2 separate regions of the Homo sapiens genome follow, and region 1 is linked to region 2. The links are contacts of gene promoters, found by promoter capture Hi-C in human tissues and cell types (Jung and others, 2019). All regions are on one chromosome and are shown on one strand. The core of a region is centred on a gene start or on the middle of the fragment in contact, and the rest is flanking DNA. Distances in the headings are between cores, read along the strand shown.

The links. The method cuts DNA at HindIII sites, captures the fragments that hold promoters and counts their contacts. A contact is called where the count stands out against the background at its distance.
Region 1: a contact is called between a fragment that was not itself captured here and the fragment with the promoter of TUBGCP3 in region 2, in 2 of the 25 tissues and cell types used here (pancreas and spleen).

The regions. Positions count from the first base shown.
Region 1 is chr13:112,672,867-112,679,090 of GRCh38, reverse strand. The region is part of intron 1 of ATP11AUN (ATP11A upstream neighbor lncRNA); the gene reads right to left. Among named protein-coding and RNA genes, the nearest start is that of ATP11A, 14 kb to the left of the region's middle. The HindIII fragment of the contact is 8,066 bases long and covers 1-6,224 here.
Region 2 is chr13:112,586,443-112,592,408 of GRCh38, reverse strand. It overlaps TUBGCP3 (tubulin gamma complex component 3), which reads left to right and starts at 4,256. Exons shown (of 22, transcript NM_006322.6): 1 at 4,256-4,504. The coding sequence starts at 4,429. It overlaps LOC124903251 (a long non-coding RNA gene), which reads right to left and starts at 4,223. Exons shown (of 2, transcript XR_007063945.1): 1 at 2,993-4,223; 2 at 1-2,395. RefSeq lists an enhancer at 3,441-4,260 and silencers at 4,326-4,545, 4,576-4,635, 4,666-4,785. The HindIII fragment of the contact is 4,898 bases long and covers 2,441-5,966 here.

The DNA.
Region 1 (6,224 bases), core at 1,974-4,473, 88 kb before region 2:
CCCTCTCCCCCGTCTCCCTCTCCCCCGTGTCCCTCTCTCCCGTCTCCCTCTCCCTCTCCCTCCACAGTCTCCCTCTGATGCTGAGCCGAGGCTGGACTGTACTGCCGCCATCTCGGCTCACGGCAACCTCCCTGCCTGATTCTCCTGCCTCAGCCTGCCGAGTGCCTGGGATTGCAGGCGCCGCCGCCACGCCTGACTGGTTTTTGTATTTTTGGTGGAGACGGGATTTCGCCGTGTTGGCCGGGCCGGTCTCCAGCTCCTGACCGCGAGTGATCTGCCGCCTCGGCCTCCCGAAGTGCCGGGATTGCAGACGGAGTCTCGTTCACTCAGTGCTCAATGGTGCCCAGGCTGGAGTGCAGTGGCGTGATCTCGGCTCGCTACAACCTCCACCTCCCAGCCGCCTGCCTTGGCCTCCCAAAGTGCCGAGATTGCAGCCTCTGCCCGGCCGCCACCCCGTCTGGGAAGTGAGGAGCGTCTCTGCCCGGCCGCGACCCCGTCTGGGATCTGAGGAGTGTCTCTGCCCAACTGCCACCCCGTCTGGGAGGTGAGGAGTGTCTCTGCCCGGCCACCCTGTCCCAGAAGTGAGGAGCCCCTCCGCCCGGCCTCCCCGTCTGGGAAGTGAGGAGCCCCTCTGCCCGGCCGCCACCCCGTCTGGGAGGTGTACCCAACAGCTCATTGAGAACGGGCCATGATGACGATGGCGGTTTTGTCGAATAGAAAAGGGGGAAATGTGGGGAAAAGAAAGAGAGATCAGATTGTTACTGTGTCTGTGTAGAAAGAAGTAGACATAGGAGACTCCATTTTGTTCTGTACTAAGAAAAATTCTTCTGCCGTGGGATCCTGTTGATCTGTGACCTTACCCCCAACCCTGTGCTCTCTGAAACATGTGCTGTGTCCACTCAGGGTTAAATGGCTTAAGGGCGGTGCAAGATGTGCTTTGTTAAACAGATGCTTGAAGGCAGCATGCTCGTTAAGAGTCATCACCAATCCCTAATCTCAAGTACCCAGGGACACAAACACTGCGGAAGGCCGCAGGGTCCTCTGCCTAGGAAAACCAGAGACCTTTGTTCACATGTTTATCTGCTGACCTTCCCTCCACTATTGTCCTGTGACCCTGCCAAATCCCCCTCTCCGAGAAACACCCAAGAATGATCAATAAATACTAAAAAATAAAAATTAAAATTAAAATTAAAATTAAAAAAAACAACTTTATTTTAATTTTAGCCAAAGAAATGCTTTTTTTTTTTTTGAGTTGGAGTCTTGCTCTGTCGCTCAGGCTGGAATGCAGCAGCGTGATCTTGACTCACTGCAACCTCTGCTTCCCGGGTTTAAGTGATTCTCCTGCCTCAGCCTCTAGAGTAGCTGGGATTACAGGCATGCGCCACCACCACACCCAGCTAATTTTTATATTTTTAGTAGAGACAGGGTTTCACCATGTTGTCAGGCTGGTCTCAAACTCCTGACCTCAGGTGATCCACATGCCTCCGGCTCTCAAAGTGCTGAGATTACAGGCATGAGCCAGTGCGCCTGGCTGCATTTGCATAGTTTTAAAAGAAAATGGTGCTACCCGGCCTGTAAGAATAACCCGATGTCCTTGTCATCACCTACTCCAGAGCCCCCTGCAGAGACAATCACTCATAGCTCTTTGCTCTTCTACCTTTATTGTGTCCATATTTCCAAATTATGTGCTTATAGCATGATTTTGAAAATTTCAACAGCACCAGTTACATAGGAAGATAAATATTTAGCTCATTCGTGCTCCTACCTCTACCTCTCTCTACTGCACGTGTCCCCACAGAGGCCACACCGGTCTCCATTCAATCTCTGCCTGTGATGGTAACAAGATTACATTCTCATAGCTGCATGTCCGTGCATGTGCTACACGCTGCCCCTGTGTTGTTCATGCATTTTCACTGCATCTTCTTTCTTATACCACCTTTTTTCCTTGAAGATAATCATTGCCTCCATCTTTCATTTTCTTAGGTTTCTTTTTTTTTTTTTTTTTTTTTTTGAGACAGAGTCTCACTTTGTTGTCTAGGCTGGAGTGCAGTGGCACAATCTCAGCTCACTGCAACCTCCGCCTCCCTGGTTCAAACGATCCTCCTGCCTCAGCCTCCCAAGTAGCTGGGATTACAGGGGCCCGCCACCATGCCTGGTTAATTTTTGTATTTTTAGTAGAGACGGGGTTTCACCATGTTGGCCAGGCTGGTCTCGAACTCCTAACCTCAAGTGATCCTCCTGCCTCGGCCTCCCAAAGTGCTGGGATTACAGGTGTGAGCCACTGTGCCCGGCCTCATTTTCTTAGCTTTCTGTATAGTTTCTACTAGTTCACGGCCATACGCTCGTATTTGTCAGTGCCATTCTATTTTTTTTCTGCAGACATCCCTCCTGTCACCCTTTGACATCCTGCTGCAATCTGACGGTGACTTTCTAAACTTGCTGCATACTTCTATACTCCGGTCACAGCCATACACTCGTATTTGTCAGTGCCATTCTATTTTTTTCTGGAGACATCCCTCCTGTCACCCTTTGGCATCCTGCTGCAATTGACGGTGACTTTCTAAACTTGCTGCATACTTCTATACTCCGGTCACAGCCATACACTCGTATTTGTCAGTGCCATTCTATTTTTTTCTGGAGACATCCCTCCTGCCACCCTTTGGCATCCTGCTGCAATCGACGGTGAGTTTCTAAACTTGCTGCATACTTCTATACTCTGGCTACACTTCACAGGTATCAGGAATTCCCTCCACTTCTCTCATAAGCCCTTATTTTCTGCATTCCATGATTTTTTCTTCCTCCTTGATTTATCGGTTTAATTTAGTGGACTGTATTCTCTAGTAGCTTCCTGGGAAAGGGTGCATGAAACATCAGCAGTTAAAATATTTTTCTGACCTTATAGTGATGGATAATTTGGCTGGATATGTTAGTCACAGGTAGGAAATATTTGTCTTCAAAATGTTCAAAGTGAAACGTGGTGGTGGCATAGTGTTTAATCTTTCTAAATCCCAAAATTAAAACAGAACAACTAGATAGCAAAACCAAAAACCTATGAATCACATTGACAACAAAATTAGATAACAAAGTATCCCCATGAACCTTTGGATTGGAGGTGTGAGTGCAAGTGGGTGTGTGAGGAGATGTTATGAGGGAGTCTTCAGAAGGACTAGACTTTTTGCATTTTACTAAATACAAGACTTTAAAAAAGCAAAATGCATTATGAAAATTTCTTAAAATGATGTTTTACACAGAGAATTTCACTTTAATTAAAAGAACTTGTTTCAAATAGCAAGTAGGTTAAGTTTAAACCAGTACCTTTCCACTATAAATCATTTTCTGAAAGTTTTTTCTCCTGTTCTTCAATCTGAAATATAAAGGAAGGGAGGCTTGCCAGTTCTGGATAGAAATGATCAATCTCTGGACTAGCTTAGCAGGAGGTAGTAAAATTATAGTGCTTGGGTTAGTGTAACATCTCACATGACAAGCAAATGCCTGGAGAATCTCTGCACCACGGAGGCTACGGTGGGGAGCGCTTTCTTCAATCTACTTTCAGAAGCTGTAAGAAATGAGCTTTTGAGCAAACATCGTCAGCCAGAACCCAACACCCAGAGCAAACCCTACTGCAGTCTGTGCACCTGACGCGCCTTTAGACTTTGAAGATAAAAATAAAAAGTCTTTTGCCTCCTGTCCAATAAAATCAAACAATTAAAATGTCATCGAGTTCCGTGTGCCCACTTTGAAATATTATTAATAATAATAACAGCATTTGCATTCATTTCTATCTTCAAGGCCTTTCCTAAACACCAATTTTTTCCAGCTCTTCAAGGGGAGCATCTGCTGAACAGGACGGGTGAAGTGATGGGAAGCAGGAGCAGGCCTGCGGTCGCAGTGAGTACATCACATTGCGTGATAGGGAATGGGGAGTGTCTGTGGGAGACTGGCCAGAGGTCGTGTCTTTCACAGATATAAGTGCGAGAGGGATTCTGGATGTGCTCTCAGTTTCGCAAGGCTCTTAATGAACTTCTTTGTCACCTGTTTGGGCTCTGATTTTCCATTGTTCAGAATTCCATATAAATTACAATGGAAAAATAAAAAAAATTAACTCTTGTTGTTGTTGTTATTCCTGAGGACTTGGAACCATGACTGATGCGAGGCTGGTGAGGCCATGTGAGCCGGGGTCAGCGGCGGGCAGGGCTGGGAACCTCTTGCCACTCCGTGAACCCTAGCATGACAGGATGCCCCACCTTTCCCTTAAGCTTGCCTTTCTCCGCCTCCCTCCCTCCCCCCTTCCTTTCCTCCCACCTGCTCCCACCTCTCCCTGTCTGCCCATTTTCCTCCATTTATTGGCACTGGATGCCCACACCCAGGACACACTAGGAAGCTGCTGAGGGTGAGCAGGCCTCATGACAATGTCATCAGATCAGCGTTTGCTTTAGAGGCAGGTGGGGAAGAGGAGGTACAAGATGTTTGTCTTGATCTCTGCTGTATGAGAATCGATACCACCAAGACTTCCTCAGCAGAAAGAAAATGTCAATAGCTTTGTGGCTTTCAGGCCCAAATGAGTATTAAGTGGCTGCTTATTTTTAAGGCTCATTTTTAAGGGACCATTTTTAAACCCTGTTGTTTGCTATAATACAATTATAAAATAATTTTACTTTTGTAAGCTTTACTGTAAAGAATCTGATCCTGTTACCCAACTTAGCGTATATTAACTAGATTTGGTTGCTTTTTATAGCATGAAATACAAAATTCTCCAACTGGTCGTCACAGTCTATCATAATGTGGCCAACCTCTACATATTTACCCAGATTTCCTTCCTTTCTCAGCATTGCTGTCTCATCCCCCTGGAACATCTTCCTTCCGTGCTGGGCAAACCGCATCCACCCTGTAGACTCAGTGCTGCCGTGCTCCCCTCATTCCTGAGCCGCTTCTGTCTCTGGGACTTCGGGAGGCACAGTTCTGATAGGGCTCACAATGTTCCCACCCCATGCTCGGGGGCTCCGTGCAGTCCCCTCTCCTTGGTGGGAACGGAGGCTGATGTTTCTCCCCTGATCAGGCTACATTCTCTTGTAAATATGAAGGAATTCTGCAGTGGAATTAAGATCCCTAATCAGTCAATTTTGAGCTAGTCAAAGGGAGGGTTATCTTGGGTGGACCTGGATAAAAGATAGGGAAAGTTAGAGCGATTTGAGGCTGCAGAGATATGCTCCTGTTGGCCTTGAGGGAGGAAACTGCCGTGCTTTGTGGAGAGCCACATGAGAGGGAGCAGAGGGGCCTCTAGTAACTGAGAGCAGTTCCCAGCAGGCAGCAGCAGGAAACAGGGGCCTCAATCCCACAAGCACAAGGACCTGGATGCTGCCAACAGCCAGTAAGCTTGAAGGTGACCTTGACCTTCGGATGAGCACCTGGCCCCAGCAGCACCTTGACTTCAGCCTTGTGAGGCCCCGATGAGAGGACCCAGCTGGTCACATGCAGACTCTTGACCCATGGAAACGAAGAGTGAGAAACGTGTGTGGTTTTAAGCACCTAAACCTGGGATCATTTGCTATACAGCAAAAAGAAACTAATACAGGCGCCGGGCGCGGTGACTCACGCCTGTAATCCCAGCACTTTGGGAGGCCAAGGCGGGCAGATCACCAGAGCTCAGAAGTTTGAGACTAGCCTGCGCAACATGGTGAACCCCGTTTGTACTAAAAATAGAAAAATTAGCTGGGCATGGTGGCGGGTGCCTGTAATCCCAGCTACTCCAGAGGCTGAGACAGGAGAATAGCTTGAACCCGGCAGGTGGAGGTTGCAGTGAGTCGAGATTGCGCCACTGCACTCCAGCCTGAGCGACAGAGCAAGACTCTGTCTCAAAAAAGAAGAAAGAAAGAAGGAAGGAGGGAAGGAAGGAAGGAAGAAAGGAAGGAAGGAAGGAAGGAAGGAAGGAAGGAAACTCCATCTCAAAAAGGAGAAAGAAAGAAAAAAGCAAGCAAGAAAGAAGGAACGAAAGTCCATCTCAAAAAGGAGAAAGAAAGAAAAAGAGAAAGAGAAAGGAAAGAGAGAGAAAGAAAGAAAAAGAAATTCCATCTCAAAAAGGAGAAAGAAAGAGAGAGAAAGGAAAGAAAGGGAGAAAGAAAGAAAGAAAGAGACTCCATCTCAAAAGAAAAAAAAAAGAGAGAAAGAAACAAAGACAGGTATCCTGTGGCACATGGTGTGGCCTTCTCTGCTAGAGAGAGGGCTAG
Region 2 (5,966 bases), core at 3,007-5,506:
CTGCCGGGAGTGACACCTGCCTGGTGGAACCTGCGTTTGGCCTTTGACCCACCCACCACCCGGCACCTGGCAGCCGGCCCCTCTCGCTCAGCACCTCACAATGCACAGATTAAAAGTGTGTTGTTTGTTACATTTAAGAACCAGTATTGAAGCATTATGAATCAAAGTCCATACTTTGAATTATTCAGACTACCTAGTTTTATCTACTATCTATGTCGGTTGTGAACTATTCCATCCTATGTCCAGGCATAATGCAGAGAATGGTGTCCTGGCCACCTTGGGGGTAACCATGGCCATAGGTCATTATCACAGAGTCCAGATGTTCCATCTGGAGCCAACCAGTAAACACCCGGTCACTATGCCCACTCAGTGGCATGCCAGCCAGGACTCTGTAACACAATGGTGTAGATGCACTGTTCTCTGGGTTCCATCCCGTATCTCCAGTGCTCCTGGGCCAGGGATCTTTGATATGATTCTTTTGTTCCCAATGTAAAGGGGCACGTGAACTAAGTTGACCCAAAGAGAGGGTAAGTCAGGTGAAACCATCCCAAGTTTGTGTTATGCCATCCCGATATTGAGTGGTCTAATCTCTCAGCTGGTGTAGTACCAGCATTAAGGTATGTGGACTTTTACTGGAAAGCTCTTCCTATGGCTTTTGCTTTGTAAAGTATCATTCATAGGCCAGTGATGCACACTTGCCTTCATCATACTAGTGCTAAGCACCAATGACTGTCCTGAGAAACACAGACACATTTCTGATATTCTGTCTACTCTTGTCCTTGAAGAGGAGCTGCCACCATGGTAGGCCAGAACCACCAGAAAGGGGCGCAAGGCCACACACCTAACGAGTGTTGTCCTGTAATTTACTAGCACAGGCCCAAGCCTACTGCAAGAAGATGTTTGTTTCATGGGCAATGGCTGGTGATGGTAGCAACAAAACAGAAGAACTAGGGACAAAAAGAAGGAAGTGTGGTGGGAACTTGTAAAGGAAGACCTTCCTCATCTACTGACGATGATTATATTAAGGGTTTGTCTAGATACAGGCCTGGTCAGGTGTCTTGAGAAGGCTGATCGCCTCACATGTTGTTTTCTTCTCATCCTTGTTGGTTCTGGAGAGTTTTAGTTTTAGATCACCAATTTGAGATGAAGTCCAAATTGACAAAGCAGCTTTCCTTGCATGGGTGGCAGGTATCCAGGAATCAACTCCTTTAAGCTTAGTGGCACAAGGGTTGGTTAGGAGTCCCTGATAAGGTTCCTTCCTCCTTGGTGGAGAAAGTCCTTTAAAGGATGCTGTTTCCTACAAAGTCTCCTGGCTGAAGTATGTGTTCCTTGAGTTTTTGCTTCTTGGAGCTCACTGTGGAAAGAATCTTTTACTAAATAACAGTTTTTACTTAGGTGCCTTATGAGGCTGCTGCAATAATACAACCTGTCCCTTTTTAATATCATCGATTTACAATTTCCTGGAGACAATTTCATAGGTCTGTCCGTTATAATTTCAGATGAAGACAGTTGGTGTTTACCCATAAGGGCTGATCTTAGGTGAAGCAAAAACAAGAAAGAGCTTCCAGTCAAGGGAGTTTTAAAACTTCAGTTAATTTTGCCAAATGAGTTTTGATTATTCTGCTTGTGCATTCTACTAACCCAGATGACTGGGGTGATAGGCACAATGGAAATGCTGGAAAATGGGCCAGATTTTGCATACTAACTGGATTATTTGTGCAGTGAAATGAGTGCCTCTGTTGCTATAAAGTTCTTGAGGAACTCCCCAAATCGGAATAATTTTCTCTAAGATAATTTTACTTACCGCCAAGGCTGCTGCTCTTCTGCATGGAAATGCTTCTACCCATGAGAAAATACACAAACCATCACTAGGATGTGCCTGTATCTTTGTGATGGTGGTAGCTGAAAAAATCTAGTTGCCATACCTCGAAAGGGCCTTCTGGTAAAGGAAAATGACATGGAGAACTGGGTCAAGGTTTCCTTGCATTATATTCTGGGAAGACAGCCCTGACTGTATACCCGTGAGCAACAGTTGGAGAAGGTTTCCGACAACATTGTTCTCCTCAAGAAATCAATAATCTTATCAGGGCTCCAGTGAGTCACATCGTGTATGCACGTTAAGAAAGATGGCTGGACCGGGCGCGGTGGCTCACGCCTGTAATCCCAGCACTTTGGGAGGCCGAGGCGGGCACATCACGAGGTCAGGAGATCGAGACCATTCTGGCTAACAGAGTGTAACCCCGTCTCTACTAAAAATACAAAAAATTAGCCCGGCATGGTGGCGGGTGCCTGTAGTCCCAGCTAGTCAAGAGGCTGAGGCAGGAGAATTGCGTGAACCCAGGAGGTGGAGTTCACGCCATTGCACTCCAGCCTGGGCAACAGAGCGAGACTCCATCTGAAAAAGAAAAAAAAAAAAAGAAAGATGGTTGTAACTTAGTTGGAAGTATGAGTAGAACATTTGGTCAAACCGTACATCAGTCTCAGAAGCGCATGTGCCACTTTTGTTTCCCAATTTTCTCGTCCTGTTTTTGGAGATTTAGATTGAGCTAATTTTACATAAAAATCTAACTTCCTTAAAGGCCAAAATGGTTTGATCTTTTTGTTCAGATATGTTTATGGCCACCCTGTTTGCTATACTACCTGCTAACTGGCTTATCTTGCTTTTTTGAGTGTCTTTGAATGGCCTGGAATCTTGATAATGGCTAATGATTTTGGCAATAGTATGGCTTGCCATAATTCTGAAACAAGGCACCCATTTTTTTGTGGGCTGACTAGAAAAGGTTAAAAATCCTTTGTCTCCATAGCATTCCAAAGTTATGAGCTACTCTATAAGCATACCTGCTATTGGTATAAAGATTAGCAGTTATTCCTTTTGCCAACTGACAGGCTCTAATTAATGCTATTAACTTTGCTTGTTGAGATGATTGCTCCTGGAAGACAAGCACTTTCTATTTCTTTGGGCAAAGACGCTATGGCATAACCAGTGTAATACCTTCCAGCTGCATCTTTAAGTAAGAGCCATCTGTAAACCAAATAACATCAGCGTTAGTGAGGGGGGTTCTTGCATGTCTGTCCTAGGAGAGAGCTGGTCAGGTAAGATGATGCAGTCATGCAGCGTTTCAGCTGAAGGTGGGGGAGAGGGTGGCAGGATTTAGATGACATCTGGACATTGTAGTATGCGGCTGAGAGAATAACTTCATGAGAAGCCAGTTACTAACTGATCGTGTTGAGTGTGATGCAAGTTTAGAAGCGTTTCCACAGAATGCGTATCGAAGGCAGTGAGGGGTGATCGCATCCTTGGTGGTTTGGTTGCTCTTGCAGAGCTGTGATGGTTGTTGCATCATGCAAGGAGACAGTCCTTTAGCTGTAGGGTCTAGTTGTTGACTGTAATACCCTACAAGTCTGCTTTGTCTCCATGTTTTTGAGTCAGAACGACAACAAACGTTTTACTTGCCAACAATTCTGCAACCTGAGCTGGACCCAGGCCCGACGGGCTTTGCAGACAGTCACGTGTGTGGCTGGCCTCAGCTGGGATGTTGGGATAGCTGGGTTGTCCTCCCTCTTCCATTTCATAGGATCTCGGGATCTCTTTCCATCATTTTTCCTTAGGAAGTTGGCCTTTTAACATGGTAGCTCACGGCTCCCAAGCGTGCACCCATGTGTAAGCTTTAACGATTGCACTGAAGTTGGCTTGGTGTAATTGTCTGCTTATCGATCTTTTTCTCGGCAGGTTTCCTGTTCTCTCACTCCGTACGTGATTAATTTATTTTCCCAGGACGTCCCAGTTACCCGGGCCGGGGGGGACCGGCCCGCGCGGCAGTGCGAGGTCGGGCCTGAGCAGGGCGCCTGTTGGATAGCGTAGCAGGTGAACTGCCCACTGCACGTTAACAATCGTAACACCCTGCACCCTTTAAACAGGCTTCTTTTTTCTTTTCTTTTTTAAACAGGCTTCTTTCATCAGAAGTGTGAATCAAACCAATGCCGTTAACACACACACCCCCACACCCACACACCAAATTATGGCCTTTATGGTGCTACCGGCCACCAAGTGCCCTCCAAGCAAGCCCGTCACGCTCGCGACTCCGGGGCCGCTCTGTCCGCGCAGCTCGAGGGCCTCGGGCCACCTGTCGCCCGGAACTTTCTCGGCCGACCGGGCAGCAGCAGGGGGAATGCACCAGACAGGGCCGGGAACGCTTAGGCAGCCGCACGCGCGGCCGCGGCGCAGGGAAGAAGCGGGGCATTGTGGGAAGCGCCCGCGCTTTCGGCGGGTTCCGTTAAAATGGCGCCCTGGTGGCCGGCGGCGCCCGCGCCTTAGCCTGTCAGGAGCAGGGAGCTTGCGGGGCGCAGGAAGGGCGCGGGCCGCGGTCCCTGCGCGTGCGGCGGCAGTGGCGGCTCTGCCCGGACCACCGTGCACGGCTCCGGGCGAGGATGGCGACCCCGGACCAGAAGTCGCCGAACGTTCTGCTGCAGAACCTGTGCTGCAGGATCCTGGGCAGGAGCGAAGGTAGAGTGGCCGGGCGACGCGAAGCCCGCAGACCCGTCCCGGGGGCTGCTCCCTGCGCGTGCAGCCCTAATACGTTCCGGGGCTGGAGGAACGAGGATGCAGGGCCGGGCAGAGGGCTGGGGGACGGGCCGAGGACGTGGGGCCCGGACGAGGGAGCGGAGGGCTGGGGTTCGAGGGTCAGGGAGCCGGGGAGGACAGCGGAGGGCTGGGGGCCAGGACCGGGGCGGAGGGAGTGGAGAGGCCAAGGCCGGGGCGAGAACGCCGGGGCGGGAGGCGGGAGGGCGGAGCCGAGCCGGAGCGGGCTGAGTCACCGCTCACTCCGCTCGCGGGTCCGTCAGTGAGGACGGGAGGAATGCCAGCTCGCCAATTTATCCCCCTTCTCTGGTGTCACGCGCCGTGGGAGGGCGCCTCTGCGCGCCTTTGGGTTCATCCTGTGGGGTGGAGAGAGCGGCTGCGCCGCGGAGGTGGATGCGGGGTGCTGGAGTGTCACATCATCGTCCCTTTTCGTTAGGAAAGTTTAACAGGCTTGAGTATTATGGGAAGAGGGTGTTAACGACTGTAACTGCCGTGTTTTCCTACTGTTTAAAGGGTTGAAGGTTGGATTTGATATAAAACTATTCTGGGAAAGTTCACATGGCGAATATTGTTACTAATAAGCAAAACTAATCCTATACGGTAGGTAAAACCATTTTGTAGTCGAGGTACTTTGAAAGAAATGGTACAGGATGCCATTTCTTGCTCCTTGTTTTGGCCAGGTTGGTGGGGCAGAGAGTGAGGATGCACCATGAGGGAATTTTCTGAGTAATGGAAGCAACTGAGTTACATCTTAAGCACCAAAATGTGGAAAAGAAGTTACTCAATTTTTGAAGGAAGACTTCAAAGTTACATTTAAAGTACTGAGAATGCATTTTGACCTTTCATGCTTCATGACAATTACTGTACATAATTCATTGGATGTTCTATGATAATCTTGGGGCAATCATGAATAATTTTGTGTCGCTATTAAATGAGTGACTTCACACAGTTCTTGCTGCATCTTGTAAAGTTTGATTCTATCACTTTATTTATCTAAGAAATCTTTGAGGACAACCCCGTCCTCAAAGTTCCCCCCGGGAACTGTGCTAAGTGCTGGTGATGCAGATGCACAAGTCATTCCTCCCACAGATCTGACAGACACTCTACTGGAAGAGACAGATGATAAACCAGCCATGTTAATTAGCAATAAGTACTGTGGCGAAAAAGTAGGGTAAAGGAATAGAGAGGGAAGAGGCAGGTGAGGGAAAGCCTCTGAGATATTTAAAGAGACCTGAATGGAGTAAGGGAGGGCCATTTGAACATCTGGGGAAGGTTCTGAGTAGAGAGAACCAGTGGAAAGGTCTTGAGGTATGAGCATGGCCTGCCATCGTTTGTTTTTGTCATTAGCAGACTGAGTTTCCTTTCACATGTTTCATGTTCCTCGTCA